4 separate regions of the Homo sapiens genome follow, and regions 1, 2 and 4 are each linked to region 3. The links are contacts of gene promoters, found by promoter capture Hi-C in human tissues and cell types (Jung and others, 2019). All regions are on one chromosome and are shown on one strand. Each heading gives the region's core, a stretch centred on a gene start or on the middle of the fragment in contact. The rest is flanking DNA. Distances are from core to core; before and after follow the strand shown. Region 1 overlaps SEC24B (SEC24 homolog B, COPII component). Region 2 has its middle 9.0 kb from the start of SEC24B. Region 3 holds the start of LRIT3 (leucine rich repeat, Ig-like and transmembrane domains 3). Region 4 has its middle 28 kb from the start of SEC24B.

Region 1 (2,700 bases), core at 7-2,506, 410 kb after region 3:
AAAAAGAATTGTTTCCTCTTCAAAACTCTGGGCACCCTTCTCACAGGCCTTATGAAGGAAACACATGTTCAGTGCTGACAGTCCTCTCCTCTTTTACTGAGGGGTACAGAACTCCTGGAGTGCAGAGAACATTCACATTTGTATGCCCAGAGTATCTAGCACAAAATGTTATGTAAAGAGGAGCTACATAAATATTTGCTAGGAATTGTAAATTAAATTTATAGGCCAGGCATGGTGGTTCATGCCTGTAATCCCAGCACTCTGGGAGGCAGAGGTTGGAGGGTCACTTGAGCCTAGGAGTTTGAGACCATCCCAGGCAACACAGTGAGATCTCGTCTCTAAAATAAAAGTTATATATAACTGTTAGGATTACATATGCATTGCATAAAATAAGGTTCAGGTGTTTAAGATCAAAATTGATGGTAAATGAGATAATCGGAGGGACAAAGTTCTTAAAAGAGAGGGAACAGAATTCTGTACCCAAATAATCTGAATTTGTCTCAGATAACACAAGAATAATATGCAGGAAGACTGACAGATTTGGTGGCAGAAGATTAATACTTTATCTTCAGATTGTCAGATTGCTTTCAATTTCTTAGTAAAATAAGTAAGGTCACCATTGGAAAGGGAGGCAGAGAGACAGGATACTGAGAATTTGAGGGAAAAGGGGAGCATGTGACACTGGGAATGGAGCAGGGAAATACCACAGGACTAACTGGTACTGAGAGCTCACTTAAGAGATATTACCATAAATATAAAGTTGGAGAAACTTCAAGGAAAATAAAGCATCAACATTGGATTATTCTAATATTACAATACAGCCATTTTATAGGGAAAAAAACATTTGACATAAAAAGGTTACCAAACCTAGTAAAAATGTGCAAAATTGATAAATGAGTAATATAAACATACAGGAAAACACAAAAATAAAGCAAGTTACCTGAATAAGATTGTAACAGTCATGATTTCCACCATACTACAATTATTGTTTAAAAAGAAAAAAATGAAGAGAGAAAACAAAAACCACATCTCTAATTTGACTACTCCTGAGATTTCCATAATAGCATGATCATTCCCCCTCCCTGAGACACATTTTAATATTAAAAATAGTTGTTTCATTAATATTTTCCTGAATTGAATTCCAACTTTTTTTTTCAGTCAGATCAAAGTCAGATTTCAGTTTCCATTATCTGAACACAAACATCAAGGTCAGCAAAGTACAAGTTCCTTTATCCTACTAAGATAAATTCATACTAACTTTGAGGTAGAATCAGATCGAAGAATGTAATCACTGAATTCATTCATCACTCAATTACAAAGAAATAGGCCAATATTCAGTCAGTATGCACCCAGGTATTCATTTTAACAATTATCTTTGTTAAAATGTTAAAATAGCTCTGAATCAGTTGGTAATGAGTCATAGCCATGGTCCTATTCCCCTGCTTTACCCCACCATGCTAGCCCAAACCTTCTCATAATCCGCAGCTGAAGGAGTAATGCCTGGCACAGCTGAAAGCTTATAGGATCCTGCTCTGGTATGAAGGATGGTATCCATTTAGTGGTCAGTATACACAGTACTGATTACTGAATATTTTAATATACTCTCCCTGCCAATAAGGTATCACTAACAATGCCAAAATACAGATTTTTAATGGGCATAAAAAATGTGCATGCTTGCACACCCACACACCCCTAAGGCAATAGGCAATTACAAACCTTGGTGATTTCAAAAATGAGGAGTCTCAGATTACATCTGGATATCCTAGGTTATCATAATGCAAGGATAACAGTTATAGAGCTTCTTCCCAAGCTCTGAGAGAAATGTTTTCTTGTATTCTTTCTCTCCTACATTCCATAAACTGCAAATATACCTGAGGATGAAGGTAACTGTTCCAGTCACCGCTGGCGGACAGAGCCTACAGACACAGGCTATGTAAACAACTGGATTAAATCTCACTGCATTAAGTATAGATTATTCCTGCTACAACATCAATTATCCTTCTTGGATACCACGACAATGAGTGCTATGAGTGAGGGGCCAAAAGACAACCAAGGCCACACATGGTGGCTCACGCTGTAATCCCAGCACTCTGGGAGGCCAAGGTAGGAGAATCACTTGAGCCTGGGCAACATGGTGAAACCCCATCTCTACAAAAAATACAAAAATTAGCTGGGCATAGTGGCATGCCCCTGTAGTCCTAGCTACTCAGGAGGCTGAAGTGGGAGAATCACCTTAACCCGGGGAGGTCAAGACTGCAGTGAGCTGTGATCATATCACTGCACTCCAGCCTGGGTGACAAAGTGAGGCCCTGTCTCAAAATACAGAAAGAAAAGAAAATCAATATTGGTTCAGAATCTACTACATGCCAGATACCTTGCTTTTCTACATATAATCTGATATGCTTCTCAAACAATTCTGTGAAGTATCACTATCATCTTTTATATACAAATAAACAGGGCCATGAAAGCCCACTAATTCATACGAATTCAAATCGTTGGTAAGGAGCAAAGAAGCCAGGCATTGCTGGTTCCAAAGCCAGGCTTATACCTCATTTCACAATATCCATTAATCAGAAATCCTAAGGAAAACAAGTTAAGACTTGGCCACTGGCTAGGCAAGACATGATTTTACCACTCCCTCTCGCTACTTCATCCTGCTTTTCCTCAGTTCCTGTTACAAATGACTTCTGGCACACAATT
Region 2 (2,700 bases), core at 70-2,569, 420 kb after region 3:
AACAAAGTAGAGAATGTTAGTCCCCGGAATTTCTCTGTAAGAAAATGTCTCATGCAAAAATCATTCAGGAGGAGAAAAATATACTTTGTAGGGGATGCTACATGCTTCTTGCCAAGAAGAGAGAGAGAAATGGGAGGCCATTAGCTGTCTTCTATGTATGGTTGGTGGGCAGGGGTACAAGAGAAGCTTCTCACTTTTACACCATGTGGGAAGAAGGTAGTGAACAGGGTAGAAAGAAAACTGTGAGATAACAACATGGAAGGATTGGGAGATTGAAAGAGGAGGAGAATTTTAGCAGCCGTCATAAGTAGGGAACTTTGGAGGGAGGAGAGATATAGAGAAGTATTGTTGGAAGCTTTACTTTCTATTTTTCTGGGAGAGACCCCTGTGTTACACCTTTACGGAAACTCATAATAAAAATCTCGATCGTTTATCAACATTAGTCTCATTATTTTTGAACGAGAATCCCCACAGAAATGATATCACATGACACTTGAGTTGTAAATTGTACAAACTGCATTCAGAAGCCATCACCAAGGCCTAGCTGTTCTTTTTCCTGAATCTAGACCATTTATGTCATATGAGTATCTACTTTCCAAAACTGAAAGCTCCTCACTTGGTCTTCCACAGAACTCCAGTGGAGCTCTAAATTGTATAGCTGAAAATGGGGCATATAATTCATACACTTTCACCATAATTCAGGGCAGGGAGGGAATGTCACTGGTTATGGTATCTGTTAGTTTTCCCTGTTAACTGACATTTGGAAAATATGTGCTCTGAGACACTCACACTTTGGGTTTAGATAACGTTTCTTCTCTCGGTGTCTGTGTTTCATGTTGTTGTTGTAATTGGCCAATAGCGCTGTAGTTGCTGCCAATATATAAGTTTGTTGCAGATACAAAATATGGACATTTTGATAGTTAATGTGCACACACACATAATACACAATAGGCATAGTCATAATTTTGTTACATGATCATTTGGCACAAATGATGAAACTGTGCACAAGTTACTATAATTAATGCCCTATACTTTCTTTTTCTTTCTTCTTTTTTTTTTTTTGAAACAGAGCTTTGCTTTTGTAGCCCAGGCTGGAGTGCAATGGCTCAATCTCAGCTCACTGCAACCTCCGTCTCCTAGGTTCAAGTGATTCTCCTGCCTCAGCCTCCGAAGTAGCTGGGATTACAAGCATGCACCATGCCCCGCTAATTTTGTATTTTTAGTAGTGTAGGGTCCAGCCCTACAGGGCCTGTGGGTTTTTCCTTAGTGTGCAGAGATGAGAGATTGTAGAAAAATAGACATGAGACAAAGAAATAGAAGGAAACACAGCTGGGCCCAGGGGACCACTACCACCAATGCGCGAAGCCTGGTAGTGACCCTGAATGCCTGGACACACTGCTATTTATTGTATGCAAGGCAAGGGGGCAGGGTAAGGAGTTTGAGTCATCTCAAATGATTAATAAGGTCAAGCAAGTCACGTGTCCACGTGACGGGGGGCCTTTCCCTTTGTGATAGCTGAAGCAGAGAGGGAGGACAGTATATGTCAGCATTTCTTCTGTGCACTTATCAGGAAGATCAAAGACTTTAGTACTTTCACTAATTTTGTTACTGCTATCTTTTAAGAACTTAAAAGGAGGTGCCAGGTGTACAGGCAGAACATGAAAGTGGACAAGGAGCATGACCACTGAAGCACAGCACCACAGATGTTTAAGCCTCCAGATGACTGCGGGCAGGCCTGGCTAATGTCAGGACTCCCACAAGAGTTGGTGGAGCAGTGTTCTCTAACTCCCCCCGGGGAAAGGGAGACTCGCTTTCCCGGTCTGCTAAGTAACGGGTGCCTTCCCAGGCACTGGCGCTACCGCTAGACCAAGGTCTGCCGAGTAACGGGTGCCTTCCCAGGCACTGGCCCTACCGCTAGACCAAGGTCTGCCAAGTAATGGGTGCTTTCCCAGGCACTGACCTTACCGCTAGACCAAGGAACCCTCAAGCGGCCCTTATCCGGGCGTGACAGAGGGCTCACACTCTTGTCCTTTGGTTACTTCTCACCATGTCCCTTCAGCTCCTGACTCTGTATGGCCTGGTGTTTTCTAGGTTATGATTATAAAACAGAGATTATTATAATACTAAAAGAGCAACACTACCAACTAAAGATTGATAATATTCATATATAATCATGTCTATATCTTATTTTTAGTATAACTTTTTGTATTCTAATTATTTTCTTTTATTATACTGGAACAGCTTGTGCCTTCAGTCTCTTGCCTCAGCACCTGGGTGGCTTTCCGCCCACAAGTAGAGATGGGGTTTCTGCATGTTGGTCAGGCTGGTCTCGAACTCCCGACCTCAGGTGATCCACCTGCCTCGGCCTCCCAAAGTGCTGAGATTATAGGCATGAGCCACCGTGCCCAGCCTGCTTACTTTCAAAATAAGGTAAAAGTCTGAGGAAAAAATAATAGTTCCCATTTCTGGAGCATTTAGGCTGTGCCAGGCATTGTTCTATGTATGTTCATGTATTATTTCCTCAAAAAAGTACACACTTTAATTCTGCAGATGAGAAATCTGAAACTCAAAGAGATTGAGAATCTTCTCCACACACATGATTATCCCAATAATCTGGTGAGTTGAATGAGAAATAGAAGTCAAAGAGGAAGAAGGCAGGGTTGCCTGAAAGATTCCAGAATCTGGATATAAAGGTGCATT
Region 3 (2,700 bases), core at 179-2,678:
TTACTACATCAACACAATTATATGATCTAGGACAAGTCATTTGGTCTCCATACAGTTTAGTTTCTTCACTTATAAACTGACAAGGGGTTGAACTAGATTATTTCTTGCCAGGCCTAATATTCTATAATTTTTATAAAATCCATCAATAATGGGGTCACCACAAAGAAGGAAACATTTCTGTGATAGTTTCTCAAAAGTACCCTGGCCTGATCCTTCACTGCTACACGTCCCTGGACAAGTAGGTCTTTAACTTGCTACATTCTCTTCATTGTCTTTAACCACCCAGTGAATATCTCAAAAAATACCAAGAATTGGTTAACTAAAGTTTATACAATAACAAGATAAGCTTTTCACAAATATGTCTTATTTATTATTATTTATTTGTTTAAAGTTATAAGACATAAATTGGGCAACTCTTTTAACAAATTATTTTATCTGAGACACCGTTTACTTCAACCAAGTCACAAATAACCTGATTTTGTTATTAAATAACCTCTCAAAAAAAAAATTCAAGTTCTACTGTGTTTAGCTAGCAAGAGTTCTGTTTTGCATTTAACATATCTAAAAGGCCTCATGCACAATATAAGTAAATAACTCTTCTCACTACACAAGTAGATGCTAAAGCAACCTAGAGATTGAATAACTTCTGTGAGATCCTGCAGTGTCTGAAACAGACAGTATCTTTTTCAATCTTCTTTATTTTGTAAATTCCATCAGCTTAAAATGAAAAATTCTAACTATTAACCTCTCTAACTTCACTCTTGAGATCTTTCTTTCTGCCATTCAATTGGCATGAATAGTTCTCAAAGGAAGTGGAGAGCCATGAAAGCAAAGGATCTGAGCATGTCACGCAGCTCCTGTTCAGCCTGCCCTCTTAGCCTTTCTATAATCAAGGGCTTAGCTGGCCATGCACCTTTAAATCGTTTGATCTCAAGCAACAATTTGTGAACATGAGCATAATAAAAATTTTGGAACATAGAATGTGTTTAGAAATTTCCAATACCTTGAGAGGCCTTTGAGAGTTAAACTGCTCAAAACGAAAACAGTGAAGGAGTAGGTGACCAGTGTTAAAACAATTAAGTTAAAGCTTATGGACACTAAACATTCTCTTCTGTGATTTCTGATCCCCAAACATTTGCTTTCAAAAGTAGGCTTTCTTGTTTGGGTCCTTTTTGTCAAAATAATGAGAACACTTAGTAACAAGCAGAGGAGCATACCTTGATCCTGAGCCGTCATTTCTGCCGTGATAATCACAGGTGCACTGTGAAGGACACAAACAGCCCACTCCTTCCAAAAAGCTAAGGACAATGCACAGACATGCAAAGAGATGCATTGCTCCTTTTAGAGGTTATTTAAACAAAAGGTAAAAACCGAATCCTAAGCATTCAGAACCTGGTATGCCTGGAATACAAACAGCCATTTAGTAACAGCAGATTACACGGGATTAGCTGAGATCTGTAGTTACTTAACCTTCAAGTGTATCTTGCAGGAGATCAATTGATCCAGCCTTTGAATACAGTTTCAGCAAAGTAACACATTCTAAGGAAAATGAAAATCAAACACATGACAAGCAATTTCAATAGTTACCCGTAACTAGATTTGCAAGAAAATGCCTATTAAATCCCTTTCTTCTGGATGTACTTGCCACTACACCTTAAAAATATACTTAATGTAAAATAATTCAGTCTTGGCAGATGCAAGAAAATTCTGTAGATTATTTACATGTTACAACATTATAAAATGTTTTGCATTTGGTTTTTGCCAGAATGTGTTACTAATTCAGTTTTACAAAATTTAGTTTTAAAAATAGAAGCACATGACATAAAAATGATTTAGAAAAGAGTTATCGATGTTGCCACATACTGGCTATCTCTAAAAGTAAAGTAAAACAAGTCAGTTACACAGATTTTATAGGGAAAATGCTTCAATCCACTACTGATGTGGCAGGACTAAGTTCTCCAATAAGAACGTGTTCTGAGACTCTTCCAGGTCATCTCAGTGTGTGGAAGGTTTATCCCAGCACATTTATTTTTAATGCAGGCAACTATCTCTGTTCAATAGTTTCCCAAGTTATCAGCATCAAAGCCATATTTGAAGATCAACTCTAATTCTTTCAGCTATATTAGGCTCTGTCAGAAAATAAAAATTAAATGTAATTAAATTTAAAAGTATCTCCACACTCATAGAGTGGAGAATCCACAGGGACAATCAAGGATTTAAGTAATAAATATACGTCATTTAACCTTCTTAGTGGCTGCTTCTAACCATCCTCTTTAACTAAAAACCTTTTTAAAAGAAAATTAATTCTATAAAAATAAGCATATTATAGAAAATGTTATTTAAAACCAATAGAATGTATATAAAAACCATACAGTCTGAAAAACTGTGCTCAATTAAAATAAAATACTGCAGGTTTTCAGATTCTGCACAACTCGTTTGTTCATCAAATATTTACTGAGTACTTATTCTCTGCTGAGCATTGAGGGGTACAAAGATAAATAAGACAGTTATTACACATAAGGAACTCACACGATAAAGGGAGGAACAGACTACTAAAGAAGCACGAGAAAAGAGCATCAAACCCAGCCTGTGTTAGTCAAGCAAGACTTCCTAGGGTGGGTGGTGCCTGGCTGCCTTTTACAGGGTGCATGACGATGTATTATGGGAAAATCCAGAAAGTTGCATTGCAAGCAAAGGGAA
Region 4 (2,700 bases), core at 184-2,683, 440 kb after region 3:
TTCATCCCCAGCTCACAGGCTGTAGAAAAACAGGCCACATACTAGCTGTGGTTTGCCAACCCCTGCTCTATAGTCCATAGTGCCTGGATCAGTGCTTTTCATGTAGACGTTAACTGAGAAATGTTGTCTGGTTAATTCAACAAGTGATTGCATGATTGAACTCTGTAGAAGTGACTGTGTTTTTTATCTTTTGCAAATGACTCCCTTTGCTCCTTTTCGCCTTGCACCATTCTAAGTCCTGAATATTTCCAGTGAGTCTGATTCTATGAACAAACTGGCTGAAGCCCCTAAAGCATGGGGCTGTGGGTGAGTTGTCCCTTCTACACAATGCTTCCTCTCTGGGTTGTCAGTTTGTTTCTGTTCCAATCTAGCCAGGGAGTTGTATGCTGAGTCAGGGAGCATAAATTATTCTGGGACAAAAAGTGGTGTGACTATTAGAACAATGTTAAATACTGTATTATTGCATTTAGATGGCAGCTCTTTATGTTTCTCCATGAATGTGTAAAATCCTTGCTCACACCCTGATTTTAATTGATGTCTGACAAATCCAGACTTACTGTGGCAAAAAAAATGACAATGTTAATATTAGCATAATTTTTCTCTTTGCTAACTGGATTTACATATCAACTCCTGGGATAGCATACATTATTTTTTTCTTTGTGCCTTGATTTAATCACAACAGCAACAATTACCTCTATTAGGCCTCTTTCTATAGATATATAGGAATATGGATGAGGATGAATGGCTTACTCTGAGAATTATTATTACTAAAATCTAAGCATTGGCTTTGCTTCCCTTACAAAGTATACATTAGGAAATAATTAGTATTACATAGTAAATTTGAAGCACAGACTTATATGTATCTTCACACTTATTTTAAAATACTTCTCTTTTATCTTTTCACAATGACTGTGAGGCTGATTATTGTTCTTATATTAGGTGAAATCTGTAACTTCACATGTTGGCTCACCAGAGCAATATTAAGAGAGATAATCATCAGCAATATCCACACAAATTGCATTCCTTAAAGCAAACCAATTGCTTTGAAGGTAAGCGAAATGATTCTTCACGGAGAAGTACCAAAATGTCCACTATGTGGTGCTGCTGTACCTGAATTACACAAGGAGGGTAAAACAGTACACTGTACCCTGAATTACACAAAAGAAGGTAAAGAAGTACACTGTACCCTTAATTACACAAAAGAGGGTAAAGAAGCACAAAGTAATAATAATTTCACCCACAAATTCATTATCATCATTGTTCAAGCAATTGTTATTGGGAAGACAAAGAAGAAAATATGTGATACTGAAATTATTACTATATGATGTAAAAGAAGCTATTTTTTTTCAACTTTGTTTCATATATGGAGAGAAAATTATCTTAGGAGAGAAGCTAATAAGTCAATGTGGGTGTTAATTTTTTGGAAAAACAATCAGAAAGAATACATAAACGGAAATTTTAGGGCATGCAAAAATTATAAATAAAGTCTGTGTGCATCTATATATACATACACACACACACATACACATAGAGAGAGAGACTTTAGCCAATGCTATATTTTAACAATGTTGAAAAACTTTTGGCTAAAATAACAATTATTAATCTGGGAATTTCATAAAAATTTTTTAGCAATCAGAATTTTACCAAATATTTTTCAGAATTTTTTCTGTAGCAATCAGAATTCTGTAGCAAGCCAAGTCATAAAAGAAAAAGAAAACCTTAATTTTGATTTCGACTCAAAATTCAAGCCCTATTTATTTTACTTTCAGGCCTATGGAGTAGCAATAGTTGCCAAAATACTAAACATAAGCTGTAAATTTTATGGACCATGCTTTCATTTACTTTTTAGGATTGAGATGTTGGAAGCTTTAGAATGTTGATTATGATGATACCCAAGACTCAAGTTTAAGAAGGAAAGGAAGCAATAAGATCATGCCTGCTATTAGTATAGTCGTCACAGTTATTGTGTAAAGGTAATGTGAAACAATGCAGAATATTTATGTTTTAACAGTTTCCATTTTATGCGACCTGTGGGGAATGAGAGTTATCCAAACTATATAGGCTGTGCCCCTCTTCCCTCCGAAGCAGCGAAGCCCGCGATGAGAACATTACTGCTGCTCTGGTACTTCCCTCTTATGGAACAAATTTGCAAAGTCTGTGGCAGTGATTCATAGTTCAGGAAAGACACACCTTTCAGAAGCAAAGATGAAGAAAGAAGGATGTTATATGTTTAGTCTTTGCTATTTTTACTCTCTGGTTTTCAGTTAAATTGTGACTTACAATTATTTGGTTATGGTGACCCATTAATTCACCAAACAGAAGCCCTATTTGAGTCAAAGAATCCTGTTTCCAAGCTTAAAAGAAAATGAATCTGTATGTTCTTATACTTTCCCTGTAATATGTTCTGTCATTTTACTAATGCTGAAAGTCTATCCAATAGACCTGGACTCATCACAAATAAAAATTTAGAGTTTCACAGAAATGGGTAAAGAGCAATTAGTATTTTCATTAAGAACTAACAAATATAAAGATCAAATTAGGGTTTTTTTTTCTTGGCCCTTGTTTATAATATGCACTAAAAATTACTATTGTACTTAGGAAGTATTTTTAATATTGAAGTTGACCTAAATTGTACTGAAATACTTGAACCTTCTGGTTGGGTCATATGGTATGGACTGTGTGCCACATAAAAATGCCTTT

Evidence for each region. The method cuts DNA at HindIII sites, captures the fragments that hold promoters and counts their contacts. A contact is called where the count stands out against the background at its distance.
Region 1: a fragment that was not itself captured here is called in contact with the fragment with the promoter of LRIT3 in region 3 in 1 of the 25 tissues and cell types used here (mesenchymal stem cells).
Region 2: a contact is called between a fragment that was not itself captured here and the fragment with the promoter of LRIT3 in region 3, in 3 of the 25 tissues and cell types used here (lymphoblastoid cells, mesenchymal stem cells and spleen).
Region 4: a fragment that was not itself captured here is called in contact with the fragment with the promoter of LRIT3 in region 3 in 1 of the 25 tissues and cell types used here (spleen).

The regions. Positions count from the first base shown.
Region 1 is chr4:109,441,065-109,443,764 of GRCh38, reverse strand. The region is part of intron 1 of SEC24B (SEC24 homolog B, COPII component); the gene reads right to left. Among named protein-coding and RNA genes, the nearest start is that of SEC24B-AS1, 8.6 kb to the right of the region's middle. The HindIII fragment of the contact is 3,972 bases long and covers 1-2,700 here.
Region 2 is chr4:109,423,461-109,426,160 of GRCh38, reverse strand. No RefSeq gene overlaps it. Among named protein-coding and RNA genes, the nearest start is that of SEC24B, 9.0 kb to the left of the region's middle. The HindIII fragment of the contact is 3,067 bases long and covers 1-2,700 here.
Region 3 is chr4:109,846,835-109,849,534 of GRCh38, reverse strand. LRIT3 (leucine rich repeat, Ig-like and transmembrane domains 3) reads right to left here and starts at 1,428. Exons shown (of 4, transcript NM_198506.5): 1 at 1,218-1,428. The coding sequence starts at 1,333. The HindIII fragment of the contact is 6,154 bases long and covers 718-2,700 here.
Region 4 is chr4:109,404,923-109,407,622 of GRCh38, reverse strand. No RefSeq gene overlaps it. Among named protein-coding and RNA genes, the nearest start is that of SEC24B, 28 kb to the left of the region's middle. The HindIII fragment of the contact is 5,184 bases long and covers 1-2,700 here.